Regions from separate parts of the Homo sapiens genome. Here all the other regions are linked to region 4. Evidence: promoter capture Hi-C in 16 types of primary human blood cells and fetal thymus (Javierre and others, 2016). All regions are on one chromosome and are shown on one strand. The core of a region is centred on a gene start or on the middle of the fragment in contact, and the rest is flanking DNA. Distances in the headings are between cores, read along the strand shown.

Evidence for each region. The method cuts DNA at HindIII sites, captures the fragments that hold promoters and counts their contacts. A CHiCAGO score of 5 or more calls a contact.
Region 1: a fragment that was not itself captured here is called in contact with the fragment with the promoter of MMP14 in region 4 in 14 of 17 cell types (neutrophils, naive B cells, total B cells and 11 more); the score reaches 19.7 in neutrophils.
Region 2: a fragment that was not itself captured here is called in contact with the fragment with the promoter of MMP14 in region 4 in 1 of 17 cell types (total B cells); the score reaches 6.0 in total B cells.
Region 3: a contact is called between a fragment that was not itself captured here and the fragment with the promoter of MMP14 in region 4, in 1 of 17 cell types (neutrophils). The highest score is 5.3, in neutrophils.

Annotation. Positions count from the first base shown.
Region 1 is chr14:22,575,164-22,578,692 of GRCh38, forward strand. DAD1 (defender against cell death 1) reads right to left here. Exons shown (of 3, transcript NM_001344.4): 2 at 1-70. Among named protein-coding and RNA genes, the nearest start is that of DAD1, 12 kb to the right of the region's middle. The HindIII fragment of the contact is 4,300 bases long and covers 1-3,449 here.
Region 2 is chr14:22,505,988-22,509,634 of GRCh38, forward strand. It overlaps TRA, TRAJ35, TRAJ34, TRAJ33 and TRAJ32. Among named protein-coding and RNA genes, the nearest start is that of TRD-AS1, 25 kb to the left of the region's middle. RefSeq lists an enhancer at 2,973-3,052. The HindIII fragment of the contact is 3,599 bases long and covers 576-3,647 here.
Region 3 is chr14:22,535,333-22,539,053 of GRCh38, forward strand. It overlaps TRA, TRAJ9, TRAJ8 and TRAJ7. Among named protein-coding and RNA genes, the nearest start is that of LINC02332, 20 kb to the right of the region's middle. RefSeq lists an enhancer at 1,545-2,014. The HindIII fragment of the contact is 8,118 bases long and covers 1-3,721 here.
Region 4 is chr14:22,834,509-22,837,919 of GRCh38, forward strand. It overlaps MMP14 (matrix metallopeptidase 14), which reads left to right and starts at 2,077. Exons shown (of 10, transcript NM_004995.4): 1 at 2,077-2,417. The coding sequence starts at 2,310. It overlaps MRPL52 (mitochondrial ribosomal protein L52), which reads left to right. Exons shown (of 5, transcript NM_180982.3): 5 at 1-529. RefSeq lists a silencer at 1,735-1,951. The HindIII fragment of the contact is 13,873 bases long and covers 865-3,411 here.

The sequences.
Region 1 (3,529 bases), core at 50-2,549, 260 kb before region 4:
AAGGCTCGCTCTGGGGAGATGCCTTGGAAATCCGCTTTGTTCTGTGGGTTGATCTGTATTCTCAGGCAAACTGCACAAGAAGCAAAACACAAAAAAATGATTATATAGAAGTATAAAATAAATATGCTAATGAACACAGACATACCCGAGGACCCAACAATTCTACTCTAACAGAAATGAATGCATATATACATCAAAGGGCATACACAGAAATGATACCCAGATAGCCCCAAACTGGAAACAATCTAATGTCTATCAACAGTAAAATGGATAAATTATAGCATATACAAACAATAGAATATTATACTGCAATGAAAAAGAACTTCTGCTATACACAAAAATGGATGAATTGCACAAGTAAGTTGGGCAACACAATCAAAAACTTTATTTTTTGGGGAGTCGGGGACAGAGTCTCGCTCCGTCACCCAGGCTGGAATGCAGTGGCATGATCTCGGCTCACTGCAATCTCCACCTGCTGGGTTCAAGCAATTCTCCTGCCTCAGCCTCCCAAGTAGCCGGGACTACAGGCATGCGCCACCATGCCCGGCTAATTTTTTGTATTTTTAGTAGAGACGGGGTTTCACCATGCTGACCAGGCTGGTCTCGAACTCCTGACCTTGTGATCCACCTGCCTCGGCTTCCCAAAGTGCTGGGATTACAGGCATGAGCCACCGTGCCCGGACAAAACTTAAAAAATACACACTGGCTGGCCAAACCAGCTGGAACCTGGCAGGTACCCAGAGGAAGCCAAAGACAAAAAAGCCCAGCTCCCACACAGAGACCACAGGGCAGAGCCTAAGTGTATATGCTGGGGGAACAAATGTACCCCCTCAATTAGATGAGGAATATTCTGGGATGCAGCCACACAGAGCCACTGAGAACTCGGCAGGAGACAGGGTCTGGTGGTGCTGCCCAGGCCGGACTGGAACCCAAGCGATCCTCCCACCTCAGCCTCCTGAGCAGCTGGGACCACAGGCACGGGTGAACACATCTGCCTAGCTCCATGGTATTTTTAGTGTGACCTTCTATTTAGGGATAATGATTCAGGTTTTCCATTATAAGTTTATTTTAAAAATACATTTACTACAGTTAAAAAATGAATCAATTTAATTGCTTTGTTTTTTAAGAAACACACAAAAACCCTCGTATACAAAATCAAATGATTTTCAACCAAACTGACAAAACCACTCAATGGGGAAACAGTCTTCTCAACCAACGATGCTGGGAAAACTGGATATCCATAGGCAAAAGAATGAAGCTGGACCCTTACCTTATACCATATACTACAAAAATTAACTCGAAACGGATCAAAGACCTAAATCCGAAATGGATAAAGACCAAAAACTAAAAAACTCTTAGAAGAAAACAGAGCAAAAGTTTTATGGCATTGGATTTAGCAATGATTTATTGGATATGACACCAAAAGTACAGTCAACAAAGTAAAAATAGATAAATTGGACTATATCAAAGTTTAAAACTTCTGTGATAAAGGTACAATAAAGGGCACAACAGTGAAAAGGCACCTACGGAATGGGGAAAAATATTTGCAAATCACTTATCTGATAAAGGGTTAATATCAGAATATATTAAAGTACCCCTACAATGCAATTAACAACAAAATAATAACCAGATTTTAAAATGGGCAAAGGACTTGAATAGACATTTCCCCAAAGAAGATATAGGAATGGCCAACAAGCATATGAAAAGATGCTCAACATCATTAATCACTAGGGCAATACAAATCAAAATTACAACGAGATATCACCTCACATCTATTAGGATGTCTAGTATCAAAAAAACAAGAGTTGGCAAGAATGCAGAGAAACTGAAACCCTTGTGCACTAACAAGTGGGAAAATCAAATAGGGTAGCCAGTGTGAAAAACAGTACTGCGTTTCCTCAAAAAAATTAAAAACAGAATTGCCATATCATATAATCCAGCAATTCCACTTCTGGGTACATATCCAAAAGAAGTGAAAGCAGGATCTCGGCCAGGCACAGTGGTTCACACCTGCAATCCCAGCACTTTGGGAGGCTGAACCAGGCGGATCACCCGAGGTCAGGAGTTCGAGACCAGCCTGGCCAACATGGTGAAACCCCGTCTCTACTAAAAATACAAAAATTAGCTGGGCGTGGTGGTAGGCGCCTGTAATCCCAGCTACTAGGGAAGCTGAGGCAGAAGAATCGCTTGAACCCAGGAGGTGGAGGCTGCAGTGAGCCGACATCACTCCGTCCCACTCCAGCCTAGGTGACAAGAGAGAAACTCCATCTGGGAGGTTGGGAGGGTGGGGGATGGAACCAGGCTCTCAAGCAATATTTGCATACCCATGTTCATAGCAGCATTAGTCACAATAGCCAAAAGGTGAGAGCAGCCCAAGTGTCAGCAGAAGAACGGATAAGCAAAGTGTGATGTATACATACAATGGAATACTCAGCCTTAAAAGGAAGGAAATTCTGATACCTGCTACAACACGGCTGAATCTTGAGGACATTATTTTAAGTGACATAAGCCATGACAAAGGGACAAATACCATGTGGTTTCACTTATATGACATCAAGAGTAGTCAAACTCCTAGAAACAGAAAGTGGAATGGTAGATGCCAGGGACTGACAGAGAGGAGGATGAGGAGTTACTGTTTAATGGGAACTGAATTTCAGTTGCGGAAGACAAAAAAGTTCTGGATATGGATAGTGATGATGATTTTACAACAATGTACATGTACTTAATGCCACAGAACTATACACTTAAAAATGGTTAAAATGGTAAATTTTGTCATGTTTTATCTTGACCAAAAACAAACAAAAAAAAGGCCGGGCACGGTGGCTCACGCCTGTAATCCCAGCACTTTGGGAGGCCGAGGCAGGCGGATCACCTGAGGTCGGGAGTTCAAGACCAGCCTGACCAACATGGAGAAACCCCTTGTCTACTAAAAATACAAAATTAGCCGGGCATGGTGGCGCATGCCTGTGATCCCAGTTGCTTGGCAGGCTGAGGCAATGAGGCAGGAGAATTGGTGGAGGTGGAGGTGGAGGTGAGCCAAGATCGTGCCATTGCACTCTAGCATGGGCAACAAGAGCGAAACTCCATCTAAAAAAAAAAAAATTAAAAAATAAAACAAGGGCCAGGCACGGTGGCTCACTCCTGTAATCCCCGCACTTTGGGAGGCCAAGGTGGGTGGATCACCTAAGGTCAGGAGTTCAAGACCAGCCTGGCCAACATGGGGAAACCCCATCTCTAATAAAAACTACAGAAATTAGCTGGGCATGGTGGCACGCACCTGTAATCCCAGCTACTCAGGAGGCTGAGGCAGGAGAATTTGCTTAAACTCAGGAGGTGGAGGTTGCAGTGAGCCGAGATTGCGCCACTGCACTCCAGCCTGGGCAAGAGAGACTCCGTCTCAAAACAAAACAAAACAAAAAAGTATATGCTATATGATTCCATGTACAAAAAGCTTAAAACTTGGTAAAACCAATCTATGGCAAGATAGTGGTTTTTATCTTTCACAGGGAGAGGATAACTGGGAAGATGC
Region 2 (3,647 bases), core at 1,125-3,624, 330 kb before region 4:
GACGTCTCAGCTGCACCTAAGAGGTTGTCACAGGAGTACTAAATAGGTCAGGGCAACTGACACAGCCAGGAAAATTTCTTTCCCCTAGAACTTGTGTGTGCTCACCAAGCAAAGCGTGACTAATTTTGACATCCATTGTTAGTGTGTGTCTACCCTTCTTGCCTTTGTTTTCAGACCCTTCCTCTCTAGATCCTTTTCCTTCCATCTCCAACTCCTGTATGTAAATCCCTGCTCTCTCCTTTGAATTCCTGACTGCTATGCCCATGCCCAGCACCGGCACCCCCACGCACACTGCTGCCTGCCTCTGTAACCATCAGCTGTATTTCTGAGGACTTTCCTAGCTCCTTGAGTGATCCTCAAATGGCTCAGGGCCCTGAGGGAATCTTTGCTGAGGGTTGGCCCCAGCAGAGCCGCTGCAGAGGTAGAGGTGGCCACCAAGGGACACAGACTGCCTGCATGAAGGCTGGAGCTGGGCCCAGGATGAGGAAAAGCCTCAGGAAGGAGGGGCTGACACGAAATAAGGAATACCATGGCATTCATGAGATGTGCGTCTGAATCCTCTCTCTTGCCTGAGAAGCTTTAGCTTCCACCTTGAGACACAAAACATGTGGTTATGAAGAGATGACAAGGTTTTTGTAAAAGAATGAGCCATTGTGGATAGGCTTTGGGAATGTGCTGCATTGCGGGTCCGGCACTCAAGTGATTGTTTTACCACGTAAGTATATCTTTTCTCATTTCTGTGGGCTGTTATGTCCGTAAATCATATAGAACAGTTCTTCTTATGCACACACACACACACACACCCATTTTCCAGTCACTGAGGAGAAACAGTCTCTGGGTCTACCTACACAGCCAGTTTGACCATTAAGATGGTCAAATTCATTTTTCAAGATAATTTTAACTGGTTCCATTTAATGCTGCCAACAGCCAAGGGCATTAGCATGTCGTGGGAACCTAATCTATGTTCACTCACTGCTGTGGGAGGACAGTCATTTCTTCTTCTCCCCTGGCAGTCAGACTTCAGAATCCAGCTGACCTTTTCCATGCCTGTCTCTTCTGGCAGATTAAGTGGTTATTTCCACTAACTTTCTTGTGGAAAAACACACAAGACAGATATATTCTCCTTCAGTTTTTACTAAGAAAGTTTTGTGGTTATCATTTTGACAATAAACTTCAGCTAGCATAGTCCCTACTATTCATGTTAATAATATCTTGACTTGAACCATCATATTTTCCCCACATCATTCACAATGCATTTCAATGCTGTAACCCACTGCACCATCCCCAGCCCTTTTATCTTCACAACGTTCTCTAATAAGGTAAACAGGATCATACATCATCAAACATATGTCACAGACAGAAAAGCTGACACACAGACAAGTTAAATAATTTAAGTCAAACCAAAAAAAAATCATAACTGGGATTAGAGCTTGAGATTCCCTATTTTCTTACAGTGAACTGTCTTGAGCTGTCACTTAATGCATTGAAAACATAATAAGCACAGGCCATAGGCATTTTCAGAACATGAAACTTGACTGAAACAAAAACTGACTGTTTGATTGCTTTGGTGTTTTAAATGTATCCCCAAATCTCCTTTGCTATTGATAGTCATTTGGTGCCAGTGACAGGGAAGAGCAGAGGGGCTTAGGAGGTTTTTGTAGATCTCAGTATCACTGTGTCTTATAACACCGACAAGCTCATCTTTGGGACTGGGACCAGATTACAAGTCTTTCCAAGTAAGTACTAGAAACCAAGGAGCCATTTTGAAAAGGTGTTTTCTTTTTCTTTTTCTTTTTTTTTTAAATGAAGTTTTGCTCTTTGTTGCGCAGGCTGGAGTGCAGTGGCATGATCTCGGCTCACTACAACCTCCACCTCCCGGGTTCAAGCGATTCTCCTGTCTCAGCCTCCCGAGTAGCTGGGATTACAGGCACCTACCACCACGCCTGGCTAATTTTTGTATTTTTAGTAGAAACAGTGTTTCACCATGTTGGCCAGGCTGGTCTTGAACTCCTGACCTCAAGTGATCTGCCTGCCTCGGCCTGCCAAAGATTACAGGCCACTGCGCCCAGCCTTAAAAGGTGTTTTCTATAAACAGGAACGTTCTCACAGCACTGCAGGCCACCCTTACCAACTCCGAGCTCTGTAGGGGCCTTTAGCACCTATAGCTGCAGAACCTTCTATAAACCAATTAATCTATATGTGAACAATTTAACCTATATGTGAACACCATGGTACTGAGTAAAATCTTACCAGCAGTGAAAAGAAGGCACTAGAGCGTCAGATGCATTATGACTCTAAACAAATGATCTGTTTCCCTCTTTTGCATTTTTATTTAAAATATCAGGGAAGGTGAAGCAAGTTCAACTTCTCCAATTTGAAAACTGTTTCTGAATTATGCTTCCCTTGTATGCAGAGAGACCTAGATTGACTTTGGATGTTTAGTCATTCGATTTAATCAAATGTAATTAAATGAGCAAATAATCTCCAATAGCCAATATTCCTATGTTGTTTCATTGTTTTATGTGCTTTGCTCTAGACTTTTTGTCTGGGCTTTGTCTCTAATAGGATCCCCGGAAGGACAGTGAAGGTTTTTGTTAAGGTTTTTGTGTCTGTGTGGATAGCAACTATCAGTTAATCTGGGGCGCTGGGACCAAGCTAATTATAAAGCCAGGTAAGTCTCAGAGATGTGACTGCACGGGAGAGGAGACACTAGTTGAATAATGCACAAAGTGTAGCATGCAGATTATATTTTTAAGAACAAGTCAGCCTGCTGGAGACAATGCACTCAACCCAAATGGGGTCTCCACTCCCAGTGAGAAGCATGTCAGCCGCTAACTCTTTTGTTTGGTCTAGTAGCTTCCGGAATGAATAATGCTTAAGTAGCCCTCTAAGAGAGCAGAGCCAGGTTGTTAGGGAATATCTAATTCCCTCTGATATGGTTAAAACTCTTTGCCAAGGGCAGAACCAGCCTCATTCCATTGGAAGAGCAAATTCAGAGAAAAAGGAAAGGGTCACACAGCCAAAGACGGTAAAATGTTCAAAGGTGAAAAATAGCCAAGTCTGCAGCTCTCCTGACATCCTTGCCTCAGGCTGCTGTCCCACGTGGAGAGCAGATGCCTGCAAAGCTCTCGGTCACTTGCTGGAGTCACTCAGGGTTCTGGGCCTTGGGATGTAACTTAAATGACAGTGTCAGGGCACTGTCAGAGGAATATGAAGGCTGCAGCGATGCCTGCAAGTCAGCTTTTGCTACACTGGGACTGAGGTGTTCTAAGCCTGGAAAGACACAAAGCTGTCCTCATCCCAACCTGCCGTGCCCCTCCTTGAGGGTTAGTGTAAGGCTCTGAAGGACTGTGTGAATTATGGTGGTGCTACAAACAAGCTCATCTTTGGAACTGGCACTCTGCTTGCTGTCCAGCCAAGTACGTAAGTAGTGGCATGTGTCAGGTGGATTCTGTGTCCATGGCAAGTAGGAAGCGACAGCCACCCTTAGGTGGAAAGGATGGCTGAAGGTTGACTTTGTTCACTGCTGTCATCTCTTATCTGCCGTGATATAGCAGGCTGTCAAAATTCCCATTCTCCTGGATGGCACACCACAGTCAGGGGAGGGGAAACATGCTAATTTTATGATAAACCCCAGGGGAGAAAAA
Region 3 (3,721 bases), core at 885-3,384, 300 kb before region 4:
TATTCTGTGACTGCTGTTTGGTGAACTAAACTTCTGATAGGTAGGAAGTGTGAGTTATGCTCATAAACAGGAAAAACAAATAGGTTTTACAAGGGGAGTATAAAAATGTCCTCCTTATTACTAGCACCTTAGTATAGGCTCCCTAGACCTGCTCCCCAGCTGTGGTGTAAAAATGGAAGGAGAAGGAAATGGCCCATTTTGTCGCAGTGCAAATCACTGTGGGAAATACTGGAGGCTTCAAAACTATCTTTGGAGCAGGAACAAGACTATTTGTTAAAGCAAGTAAGTTCCATGAAATAACCTGATTTATATTACAGTTGAAGAACATCTGTTTTCATTGATTTTTTTCTTTTTAGGGGGAAGGGGACATAGTTTTGTCTGCCAGTTAAATTAGAAGATACATTGGCAATAATAATGTTGCACTGTACAGTATCCATGGGCATCACTCTTGCAAGAAACATGTATAATAACAAACAGTTAAGTGTGGATGGATAAAACTTCCCTAGGTCCTATCTAGAACTGAAACTCTGTAATTATATTAATAACTTTTTTAACTTGAATATTAGTGACATTTTTATATAACCCAAGGTATACAAAGCAGAATCTTCAGTTGGGTTCTATCTGATTTGTTGTCATCTTCCAATGGTCTTAGGAAAATTAAGGTTAAATAGTAAGATTAGATGCCTCCTACCACTTTGGTACATGCATGCAGACATAGAAACACCCTTAGTAACTAACTTGCATGTGACTTGGCAATCCTAGGCTATGGCCCAGTGACAGGGTCCCATTTTGTACAGAGTTATGTCAGAGTGTGAACACAGGCTTTCAGAAACTTGTATTTGGAACTGGCACCTGACTTCTGGTCAGTCCAAGTAAGTCAAATCTGCAGAAATGTGTAGCCCTATCCTCAATATTGGGCATATATGGATATAATTATTCTGGTCTATAATAGATTATTATTACTACTATTTTGTTCTTATTAATCATAACAATGCTGCTAATTTCAAATATACATTTTCTGCCATATTATTATTTTTACCTTTAAGGAGAATTATTGTCAAGATATCAGGAGGGAAATATTTGAATTTCCTTTGAGTCAAGTTTCTTATTTGTTCGTCAGTTCCCACCTCTCTGCTGAGGGTCATATGAACCTCACGATGTTTTGGTTTTTATACCGCCTTCTTATTATCTCTCTTAGAAATGCTTCCTTGGTTTTTCCTTGCCTAAGCACTTAGATTTTGCAGCTCACATTTACCCAGAGTATACTTAGCTTTTAACCTCTCCCAAAACTGGCCTCCCTGTCCCAATAATTATGCACAGTAAAAGTCAGTTCAATTCAGTAAATGATTATTGAGTATCATCAACAAACCAGGGAATCATCATTGGTTTTAAAAGAAAGAAACAAAGAAAAGAATTTTTAAAACCCTAAGCTATCTTAGGCTTCTGATCTCAAGAACTTCCAGTCTTATCAGAGAAACTAAGCACTCATAATAAAAAGTCTAACAACAATTTATATGTGTATGTGCCAAGATAGGGGGGTGGGTTTCCTGAGGGCTGGAGACAGGACAGGTATGACCATGCACAGCCGCATTCTTTGGCAGAGAACACACATGATTCCCCCAAATATGTTTCTGGAAACGGAATTGAGTCTGTTCTGTGCTGAGATCTTTGACTTTCTTGAGGACAAAAGCCCCCTTGGCAGTTAGCATCCTTGAGCGGGGGTGAGGACAGAAACAGGAATGAGTCAGGCGTGAGTCACCCAAGACTCTCACTCAGCCCCAAGAGGATGGAGTGACTCTGAGTCATGCCGAGGCATGTCTTTAGCATGTGCTCCAGCACAGTGTGCATTTATGGCAAGGTGAAAAATACATTTTTGCACATGTCACTAGGAAAATGGTACCTTCTTCTCAGGCATGGCAGATGAAGTAGGAAAATGCCCGCCTGCTCTCTGGTATCTTTAGAAATACTCACACCCATCCAGCCTATGTAGGATACAATGTTTTTCATGAAGTTTTATGAAGATTCTGTTTTTCCCAAAGGAGAAATAGCCAAAGCTGTGTTTATTGATAGCTGTGATGAGGAAAATGAAGGCCAACAGGTAGCAGTGGGGTCTGGTGCTGTTTATACCCTTTAGGGAGGTTCCTTCAAGTCTTCATACCACCCATTACAAGGAAAACTTTAGCATCCGCCTTTCAGGGTTTCCAGATCTTAGAGCTACTGTGAAGGGGATGTGTCTTCAGAGAAGGGGTGGGCAAAACCAGGAGGTTTTTGTAATACACTTACACAGTGTGACTATGGGAACAACAGACTCGCTTTTGGGAAGGGGAACCAAGTGGTGGTCATACCAAGTAAGTGAGCTGGGATCCTCCTGCACAAATGGCCACAGCCACCCCCATCCCTACCCTGTGCTGGAGAGCCTCTTATCATATTTCCATGGGAGCGGGGGAAGGACATGCCATTCATCAGTGCTATATCGAAGAACCTTAGGCGGCCACTGTCCCAAATCTTTGCCTGTCCCTGGTTTCTTTCACTCTCCCCTTCTCTGCATCTCCACTGACCACACTCCCATTCTCATGTAAGCTGCCCCTGATCTTCCCTGAGGCTGGATTTCAGATTGAACAAAGGACCACAAAAGTGAGAGCTGGAGGGGACCGTGGGGACATCTTGCTCATGTTGCAGAGGGACCTGATGCCAGGGTCTAGCATCTGTCCAAGACCGTGCTGATGGTCAGTGCACAGCAGTGGAGGGGCCCCAGCCCTTTACTCCCACCCTGAGTTTGGTGGAGCCACACAGCTCTTTGCTAAGTGACCCTCAAACCCAGTGTGAGATAAGCTGAGTGTTGACAGTGCCCACCTGCTAGGGAACCAAGTACTGAGTTCCTGCCCCAGCTCAGGACTGTGGCGCAGGCCATGACCTCCCTGAGCCTCAGTTTTCATATCTCTGAAGTAGACAGCATGGTCTCTGTTTCCTCCCATCTTTCAAAAATTCTATGGAAATTATTGTGACTTTTTTCTCTGTAATTGTAGGGTTTCACAGAGGCAGGGCCTTGTCTGAGTCAAGGTCATTAGAAATAAAGGAATCCAAGGGCTTTGGATGCCTTGGCCTAATTCTAGGTGGTAAAGAGGGAAGGATGAAAGCACAAATCACAGGAAGTGCCTAAATCCTGCTTGGATTTAGTGTTGCCTCAAACAGGGATATGCAGAAATCCAACCCCAGGGTCTCCCATAGGAAGAAGACTAGGAGTGGGAAGTGCCAAAGAGCTCTGGAAAGGAAAAGAGAACAAGGAGCACTCTGAGAAAAGGAGGTCAGAACAGCTTCAGGAAAAACGTCACATAAAATTTCCTTTGCTCTCTGTCCTCGCAGCACTTTCAGAAGCTCCTTGCATCTGACTAAAGAGTAGCAGAGCCAGACCCTCAGAATGTCTGCCCCAAGCAAGCAGAGTGTGGTGTTTGTATTGGGGTGCTGGGAGCAGACATGGGGAGTTGCTGCCCTGCTTCTCTGCTGATGGGAAGGTGGTATTTTCCCCTGGGTACACGGGGGCCAAAGAGCTCTCCAGTCCCCAGCCCCTGGCTCCCGCCCCTGGGCTCCAGCACTCGGGGGCTCTAAGGACAGCAGTAGGAGACTTTCTACAACTCAGAGAGTATTCAGGAGGGTTTCCCAGGATGTTGCCCAATACCATGGGGCAATTGGTAGAGGGAGGTCACATGAAACAGGTTTTATC
Region 4 (3,411 bases), core at 827-3,326:
CCATTCCAGTTCAGCTAAGTCTTGCTTTAAAATTTTTACCTCCTAGCTGGGTGCGGTGGCTCACGCCTGTAATCCCAGCACTTTGGGAGGCTGAGGCGGGCAGATCACAAGATCAGGAGTTCGAGACCAGCCTGGCCAACCCAGCCTGGTCAACATGGTGAAACCCTGTCCCTACTAAAGATACAAACAATTAGCCGGGCGTGGTGGGGTGCGCTTGTAATCCCAGCTACTCAGGAGGCTGAGGCAGGAGAATCGCTTAAACTCGGGAGGTAGAGGTTGCAGTGAGCCAAGGTCACACCATTGCACTCCAACCTGGGCGACAGGGCGAGACTCCGTCTCAAAAAAAAAAAAAAATTTACCTCCTTTGCAGGCCATAGGACTAGCCCAACTATGAGAAATAGCTGTTCTGTGAACGTGAAAAGGGGACAGCAGTTTTCCCAGTTTTGGCCAGGCAGTCAAGCCTTTAACAGCTCATGCACAGTTTAGGCCATGTACAGCTGGCATCTAATAAATGTTTTCATGAAAAAGATTTTCTAGCCAAGGTCCCTTTTTTGGCAAGCATCTGGTGTCAGTCTTCCTAAGATTCAGATATGTGGTCCAGGAGGTTACCCCCACTGGGAAGGCTGATGTGGGAAGAATCATACCTGGGTGTTGCGTGTTCTGCCGAGAGTGGGGTCCTGAGGTCTCCATGGTTCTGAATGCATTCCAGAGATTGGTTGAAGAGGGGCCTGTACCTCCCAACCCCAGCTTGTGTAGGAAAGCCCTACATAAGGGCTCAGCCCTCAGTCACTGTGGGGTAGGTAGCTGTTTAATAACACACACCATATACCTCCCACAAACCTGGAGGCTCCACAGGACCTGAAAAGCTTTTCATTTTATTGATCATGAATCTGAGGGCAAAAGACCTTTGTTTTCATTACAATACTGAGCACTAGACTTCTATTCTTCTGCCACAGAAGTGCATCCCTAGGATTTCTGGAGCTTCCTACCTGACCTAATTTCTGTCCACCCTCCTCTATTCCTTCCTTTGCTTTCTTCTCCCTTCCTCCTCGCACTACCTCTGTCCTCTCTCACTGGCCAAATGCAATTCTTGGATCTTAGATTTCGCTGATAGTCTAGTTTTCTGTCTCCCACACTTTTCCTGCTTCTGTTGTGCTTCTTTTCCAGACCTGTCTAGTTCCCAACTCATCTGTCTCCCTTTCTCACGGTCAGCTTTATCCTGCCCTCTCCCTTCCCTACATACCTCCACCTTTTGTTCTGAGTCCAGTAAGTCCCTAAAGGAGATTATAACTCTTTAAGAATTGCCTCCTTTTTCAGTGTAGAGGTGGAACTAAACCCCAGAGTCCCAACTCCCAATCCCTTCTTTTACAATAATTTCACCCAACTTGATTTGCTTTCCCCCAGATCCCACGGCCTTGTACCCTTTTCCTCCCAGCGAGTTCCAATTAAAGGTGCAGCCACATTACAAATGACAATAAAGGAATCACCTTTGTCTTTCTACAAAGGTTGGAGCCACAGATCCGGTATGGTTGTGGGGTTTGTTGTTGGTAGTTGGGTTATAGTTTGGATTTTTTAGCAGCAGAGGGAGGGACATAGACAGTTGTCTACAGGGCCCAGAAGATAACCCCCTATTAGTAAACTGGCCCCTTCTCCCTCTGCAGGTCTCATGGGCATGGAAGAAGACCCCACCACCATCCCACACTCTGAGCTCCTCGTTGCCCCTAGCCACATAGCCCCCAATAATTCCCACCCTGAGGTGAGACAAATGCTGAATACCAGAGGAATCAAGCCACTCAGAATATGCTTATAGGGACAAAGTCTCCCACATCCCGTCCCCTGGATCCCCCTACAGCCCCCTGCTGTCCATCGCGGCCTCAACCCCTGCAGATGGCAGCCTGCACCACAAAAAGGCAACTTAGAGGTGTTTTTTTTTTTTTTCCTTCCAGTTCTTGGTTGTAATTGGATTCAGGCTAAAACAACCACGTCCCCAACCAGGAAAGGAGGGCACTGGGGCGGGGACGGAGGAGAGGCTGTGGGAGAAGGGAGGGACCAGAGGAGAGAGCGAGAGAGGGAACCAGACCCCAGTTCGCCGACTAAGCAGAAGAAAGATCAAAAACCGGAAAAGAGGAGAAGAGCAAACAGGCACTTTGAGGAACAATCCCCTTTAACTCCAAGCCGACAGCGGTCTAGGAATTCAAGTTCAGTGCCTACCGAAGACAAAGGCGCCCCGAGGGAGTGGCGGTGCGACCCCAGGGCGTGGGCCCGGCCGCGGAGCCCACACTGCCCGGCTGACCCGGTGGTCTCGGACCATGTCTCCCGCCCCAAGACCCCCCCGTTGTCTCCTGCTCCCCCTGCTCACGCTCGGCACCGCGCTCGCCTCCCTCGGCTCGGCCCAAAGCAGCAGCTTCAGCCCCGAAGTAAGTGAGCTTCCCGGCCCTTCCCGGAGTCGCGCCCGCCGGGAGGCGAGCCCGGGGGTCTCCTAGGGGACAGCCTCTATTCGGAGAGGAGGGCTTTTGGGATCTCCGCTGCTCAGGCCTGCAGGATTCCCCCTCCCTTTCTTTTTCCTCTTCGTCTCCAAACTTCCAGATCGATCCAACTTTTGCCCGCTTCCAACCAGCTGCCCCCACCCCCTGCGCCGCCGACTCTCCTTCCCATTCCTTCTTTTTTCCCAGTCCTTGGAAGAACTTTACAACTGGGGCGAACTCCCCCTTCCCCGATTCCCTTGGGCTCTGCTCTCAGCTCTGGAACCGCCTGATAAACATTTGGACTCCGCTCAAACCCCGCGCTGTCCCGGCTCCTCGTCATGCGCGAGAGTTTGTTGTTTCTTCGACTTCCCAGCTCTCCAGCGCTCTCCCGCCGGCGCGCCCTCCGATGGGCGCTTCGGCCTCCCCGGGTGGCCCAGGCCTTCAGCGGACGAGTCTGCGGCCAGGTGGGGGTCGAGGGTGGACGGCCGAGCGTCCAGGGCCACAGCCCCCGTCTCCCCGAGAGGACCCCGCTGTGTCCCTACCCGCATCCCTGGCGTCGAGGGTCGCAGCGCCGGCGCGCTGGCCGCGTTTCCGTACACACAAAGCTCTCCTTGTGAGCCGGGCGATCGGCCGGGTCGCTGCCTCCCCCTATCCCCACCCGCGTCGGCGCCTTCAGGCCCTTTTTGTTGTTAATAGTTTTTCTGTGTTAATTGCAGGGAGCCTGGGGGCGTCGCTTGGGGAATGGGGAGAGGGTCTGGTCCGGGGTGCCCTCACGTCGGGGCTGGCTCGGGCGCCCCCCACCCTCACCCCGGCCCAGACGGTGGCCCACCGGGCCCCAGAGGAAGCTGCGTGGGAGTTGTCTGAGGAGGTTTTTCCTCTCTCTCTCTTATTTTGGGGTGAAGGTGGGAGACGGATTTAATGAGCTTCTTATTTTGGGCCATCTCAA